Linked DNA regions of Homo sapiens: region 2 is linked to region 1. The links are contacts of gene promoters, found by promoter capture Hi-C in blood cells and fetal thymus (Javierre and others, 2016). All regions are on one chromosome and are shown on one strand. The core of a region is centred on a gene start or on the middle of the fragment in contact, and the rest is flanking DNA. Distances in the headings are between cores, read along the strand shown. Region 1 holds the start of ADH7 (alcohol dehydrogenase 7 (class IV), mu or sigma polypeptide). Region 2 overlaps STPG2 (sperm tail PG-rich repeat containing 2).

Region 1 (3,274 bases), core at 260-2,759:
AGTCTGTGATATTTTGTTATGGAAGCCCTAGGAAACTAATACAGTTATCTTTTACTTTTTTAATGAAAAAGAAAACATTTATTATAAAGAGAAAAAATCAATCCCAATGTAAAGGGAAACTCCTTTCAAGAGCTACACTGGAACACTACAGAAAGTTGGGAAATATATAATCCTTAGGCAAACCACACTATTGCATGACCATATATCAAAATCATATAACTTTTATACTCTTTATATATTATATACTGTATTATTAATTGGAAAGTGCTGCCTTGAGGCTACTTTCTCCATCATCAGAAATGTTCTTACAGTGGATGAATATCGACTTCCTAGAAATAGTGTAACCAGACCTGAAGCATCTGTTGGGTGGTAAAAGTTGCAAATTTTTAAGATTCCTTTCAGTTCTAAGATTCATTAATATCCATGGGTAGAGTTGCTAGTTTCTGTAGTGCAAAATTAACTTCCCAAGTAATCTAGTTTTGCTGGATTTCTGACCCAAATTAGGATGGTTTTATTCCAGTTCTATCCAATTCTAGTAAAACTTATTTCAAATTCTAACATCATAGAGTCTCCTGACTTGTCACATTACCCAGACTTCTCATGTCATCTTTATTTTTCCAAAACCTTAAGCAAGCTAAATGCAAAATTGTTCAAGTTAAAACAAAACAAACAAAAAAATTTAGTCCTTTAAGCAATTATGTACCCATTTAAAGTAAGGAAATATACTGACCTATTTTCAAATAAAAAAAAACAAAGCAAAGCTGTTTCTAAAGTTAATACCAACTCTGCTAACTCTGTTGTTTTTAGAACGATAAACATACTTTACCAATAATATAGTCTTGATTTTAAAGAATTTTTAAATATATATTTTGATAAAAATTACATTTGTAAGAAACCTAAAATTCATGACACTTTCTTGGCCATTTTGCATCCCAGAATTAGCATTTTCCATTCTTAATGGCAGGAACGTTTCTTCCAACATCTGGGCATGAGACCCTGGTTTCCCATTGAACTACTGCAGCGAGTGCAGCACATGCTACTGAGACGATTGAAGTGTCCTTGTGGAAACATTTGGCTTCCTGGAGCAATTGCCCAGCTATCCGGAAATCAAATTATGAATAATGCCAATATAAATCAATTTCTCTATTTTCCACCAATGTCTTGCTGACATTGGATATACTATTTCCAACTTACCCCTGCTTCCACTGACATTCTCTGAAACACCATATCCAGTGTTTCCCTCACTGTATGCCTGCTCACCAAGCATTTCATTCCTCAAGGAATATCTCCAAGTGTTTAATTACTTTAATGGATTCAAAGTTCTAAGTATCAGCCTCACATCATTAGGTCATGATGAGGAGGGGACAGAAATGTTCCACTTACTTTTCCAGCAGTGCCCATCCTGTCTTTGTCTTGGATCTGTATTTCTGCAAACATAGACTTTTTCTGACTGATGCTCAGTTCACTCTGTTGTATATAACAGCAGCTTGTGCCTTCACATAGATAGTCTGGCTTCAGAGTTCCACCTTCAGCAATATGACTCACAGCCGTCACAACTTTGCAATGGTCTGCAAGCCCTACCCTTTGCAGACCAACTTATAAAAAGAAATACAGTAACTACTATGATCAAACCAAGAGGAGGGATCTAACAAAAACAAGATAATCAAAGCTATTGAAAAGGGCTGAAAGCATTCCTATCCACCTTATTTTGAAGGATATAAAAACGGGTTAGGTTACTTCACTTCAACACAATCATGAAAAATGTATTGGGTGTTTAAGTGCAAGCTGCTTTGCCTAGGCATGGCTGATTTTAGAGATGCGTGTGTACATCTCTACTTCTTAATGCTCTACTTCATTCTGCAAAGACTTGATGTGGTTTCTGGAATTAAATATAAATGAAAACAGAGCCAAGGAAATGTAAAATAATTGCAACAGTAGGTCAAGTTTGGGCAAGAGAAGTTGAGATGATATAAAATATCAATATGGATGACTATGGTTTCTAAGTATTTTAGGTGTAGAAAGTTAAGTGAAACTTTCTGTGTCTGCACTTAGAGAAATTATCATCTGACTCCAAATCCCATTAACCACAGAGTTGCCTCATATGGTTGTACAGTTTGTTTACGGCACCAATGTAACACAGTGCAGGGGCTCAAGAGAAATTGAAATCCAGCCTGCATACTGGCTATCGAATGCCAGAGGGTTTTCATCTACTTGGGCAAGTACCTAGGTCTTCTTGAGTAGCTGTTTAACCATTACAGACCATTATTTCTTAATATAAGTTGCAATGGCTCCAGAAGCTTCTGGATCTATTATTTGATAGGAGAATGTCCAGTATAGATGTTATTTTTGACAGTAGATGGTCAGCATACTGGTACACCAGATGGTCAGCATACTGGTACACCATCACCTCCAAGAAAACTTTACACAAAGGATATTTTACTTTTGTTAAGTGATCCAGTGAAGCAGGTTTTCTAAGTCTTCAGACAAAGCTGTTCAAGCTATGAAGTCCAGAACCTGGACTCTTAACAACCCAGAGATGAAATTTGCTAAGAGTTTATTTTTCAGATACAAACAAAAGTTTCTTTTCAAAAATAAGTATACATTTTTTCCACACATCTCTCTTTCAATATAACATAGTAAATGTACATCCAATTTAACATATATTATGTCAAATTCAGAATTTGTAATTAGAATTTGTTACTACAACTCATTAACCAAATCAAATCCACCAGGAAAAACCATTGCCAGTTGATTTGGCTTGTGAGTAAGCACCATTGCTTTAGCAGTAGTGCTGAAGAACTCCAGTATGTTTGCTGGCACTATAAGACAAAGTTAAACAGGTGTGGACAAGGACAGGTATTCTTAGTCTCGACTTTCAAACAAAAACTTGTTTACTTATGAACAAAAGAAAATGAGTTCAAACATGGGTGGTGACAGCATAAATGCAAAAGCGCTGAATTGATAAACTCCCTCTTAAGGGCTTGGCAAAACTTTGTATCATATTAATCTAAAATTTTTTTACAAAAAATAATGTATCATGTGAGGCTTAATATCTGAATAAGTCTTATGGTCCTAATCCAGTCTCCATGAAACTTGATTGGATGATAAAGTGCCAAAAGCTGAATCTTGGAAGGTAATAAAAAAAATGGGTCAGTTTGGATATATAGCAGCTAAGTCTTAATTTTAGGTTTAGAGAATTTAACAGATGACTTCTTTCTTCTAAACACCATATTTCTATGAAATTCTGGGGCCAGAACCCTCAGGGTACTCAATC
Region 2 (3,032 bases), core at 459-2,958, 1.3 Mb before region 1:
CTCATTGTATAATTGTTTAGATATTTGTATCTTCCATTGAGGAATGTGAACTCCTTGATTCAAGAAGCTTTGCCCTATTCATCATCTTTCTATCCACAGCATATAATAGGTGTTCAATTAATTGTTCATTGAGTAATAATAACTATCATTTACTGAATATTAACAAATGTCAGACACTGTGTTAAGCATTGTGTGTATATACATATATATTCAGATATCATTGGATTCTCACAATAACCTTTTTGTAGAGTATTATTATTCATATTTTAGAGACTTAAAAGGAAGAATATTGAGGCTTAGAATAGCAAAATATCACACACCTAGTATGTGATGGAGCAAGAAATTGAATGCAGTGTGATTCCAAAGTCTGAATTCTTTACCACTAAACCATAAATAAATACAAAAGGTTTTATTTATTTTATACACATCTTAAAATTTTACCATGAATGAGTATGACTTTGGTATATAAAACTCACTCAGTGCAGTACAAACTATTTTACAATAAGACTTGAAGAGATAAGGTGCTCTCCCAAAAGATACTGAATTATTGTTTAAGCAATAACTAAATATTTTCAATCTCTTCCTCACTCCTTCTCTCACATATAATTTTGTCCATTTATCTTTTAATAATTCAACCCTTCCATCTTTATTGACACTTTTTTCACTTCTTTAAAATCCATAATTTAAAAATTGAAAAACTTTCCTTAGAAAATGGGAAAAGTGAGCAATCAGAATTTGAGATACAGTAACTGTAACATGAACAACTAATTTAGGTTTGGGGGGAAAAGCGTGTTTAATTATGTGCAAGTCTTCTTAAGTCTCTGTTCACCCTCAAAACCAAGGCCACTACCACATATTACTAACAGTAATAAATTGCCAAGTGCCTGTTATAAAGCCAAGTAACCAGATAATTTAATAAATATTAAAGACTAACAATGATAAGGAAGAAAGTAAAAATGTTTACATTGAAATTAATGGAATAATCCACCCATTAAAGAAAAAAACACAGAAAGTTTTAAATTATTTCTCCCTTTCATGTCCTTATTATTAACCTGTTTAGCATAATTTTACTTATTTGAAACTAAAACTTTCTATTTAAGATCTATATTAGTAAATTATTTTATGTAACCTAAAATTTTATACTAATCAAGAGAATAACCTAGTCTATAAATAACATCTTTTAATATAACTTTTAAAAGTCTAATAATTTTGATAAATTTATATAGATGAATAGAAATAACTTAGTTTGCAGCTAGAATCTAAATAATATTTTTAAATAGTTCCAAGGTATTTTCATTTGGCAGAACTGCCAAAAGAACTAAAATTTCCAGTTTAGGATTTGCTCAAATGAACTTCAAGGCAAATTTTCGTATCTTGCCACATAATTTTTAGGCATTTGTTTTAATGAATTTGAGAAATGAATGAATAAATAAGGTGTTATGTCAATAAAGAGCCAAAGTATTGGCGCCACCTAGTGAAACTGTACTCAGTTATTTGACCTAATACAAAGCTAACACAGCAACTTCATATATTTTGTATTACCAAATTAAAGAACTTCAATAGAAACAATTACCAAATGTTTTTGCATAGTAAAGATTTATCTTAAAGACTTTGTTAATATTAAGAAAGATACTAAAAAATTTTTCATTGCCAAAGGCAAGACATTCCTTAGTGAACTATTCAGGTTGCATAAAAGTTAATATTTGTGTTTTTTAACAGGAATTCTCAGTAAATTATAATGTCATAAATATTCAAAAGATATATTAAAACAATACTACATGTACAAATTAAGTAAATTCAAGGACAGTTATGATTTAAAAAACTCACATTGATTAAAATATTATATTCATATTATTACACATTTTGTTGCAATATCAGAAAATGCTTAAATCCAAAGATACTATAGGAGGGGGATAAAGATGATGGAATAGAAGCCTACACCATTCATCTCTCCTGCTGGAACACAAAATTTTAACAACTATCTACATGAAGAAAAGCACCGTCACAAATACCAAAACCCAGGTGGCAATCACAGTACATGGTTTTGACTTCATAACGCTAAAAGAGGCATTGAGGAAGGCAGGGGATATAGTCTTGAATCATCGATGTCACTCCTTCCCCATCCCCCAACTGTAGCCATGCAGCACAGAGACAGAATCAGTACATTTTGGAGAGGCAAAGCACAGCAATTGGGGGACTTTACATTGAACTTGGTGCTGCCCTGTCAGAGTGGAGAATAAAGCCATGCTGAGCTCAGCCAGCACCCATGCATAGAAGGAGCATTTGGACTAGCCCTAGCCAGAGGGGAATCACCCATCCCAGTGGTTGGAACTAGAGTTTCTCAGGAAGTCTTGTTACACGGAGTGAAGTGCTCTGGGGTCCTAAGTAAACTTGAAAGACAGTCTAGGACAGAAGGACTGCAATTTCTAGGCAATTCATAGTAGTAGACTGGGTTTAGAGCCAGGAAGCTAGGATAGCACAGGACCTAGGGAGATACCAGCTGGTGCAGCTAAAGGAGAGCTTGTGCCGTGCCTCCCACAATCCCAGGCAGTGCAGCTTATAGCAATGAAAGTGACTCCTTCCTTCTGCTTAAAGAGAGTGAAGAGTAAAGAGGACTTTGGATAGAGTATTGAGCAGAGTTGTGAAGCCTCCATTCCAGGCCCTAGCTCCTGAATGATATTTCTAGACACACCCTGGGCCAAAAGGAAACCTGCTGCCTTGAAGCAAAGGCATGATTCATTACCTGCTGACTAAAGAGCCCTTGGGCCCTGAATAATCAGCAGTGATAACTAGGGAGTTTGCCTTGTGCCTTGGGTTCTGAAATGTGCTGGCTTCAGTGACAACCCAGCACATTCCCAGCTGTGGTGGCTACAGTGAAAGACTCATTCTGTTTTTAAAAAGCAGAGTAAAGGGGACTTTGTCTCGCACCAACTCGACCAGTGGAGTAGAGCAACAAGCAGGCTTTTGGGGTCCCCGAGTCCAGGCCTAGGCTCTTGGACAGCATTTCTGGACCTGCCCTGGGTCAGAGGGGA

Evidence for each region. Contacts are between HindIII fragments. The CHiCAGO score rates a contact against its expected background, and 5 or more counts as called.
Region 2: a contact is called between a fragment that was not itself captured here and the fragment with the promoter of ADH7 in region 1, in 1 of 17 cell types (M2 macrophages). The highest score is 5.9, in M2 macrophages.

Annotation. Positions count from the first base shown.
Region 1 is chr4:99,433,833-99,437,106 of GRCh38, forward strand. ADH7 (alcohol dehydrogenase 7 (class IV), mu or sigma polypeptide) reads right to left here and starts at 1,510. Exons shown (of 9, transcript NM_000673.7): 1 at 1,384-1,510. The coding sequence starts at 1,401. RefSeq lists a promoter at 1,423-1,996. The HindIII fragment of the contact is 5,841 bases long and covers 1-2,295 here.
Region 2 is chr4:98,091,572-98,094,603 of GRCh38, forward strand. All of the region lies in intron 5 of STPG2 (sperm tail PG-rich repeat containing 2), which reads right to left. Among named protein-coding and RNA genes, the nearest start is that of STPG2, 50 kb to the right of the region's middle. The HindIII fragment of the contact is 3,287 bases long and covers 66-3,032 here.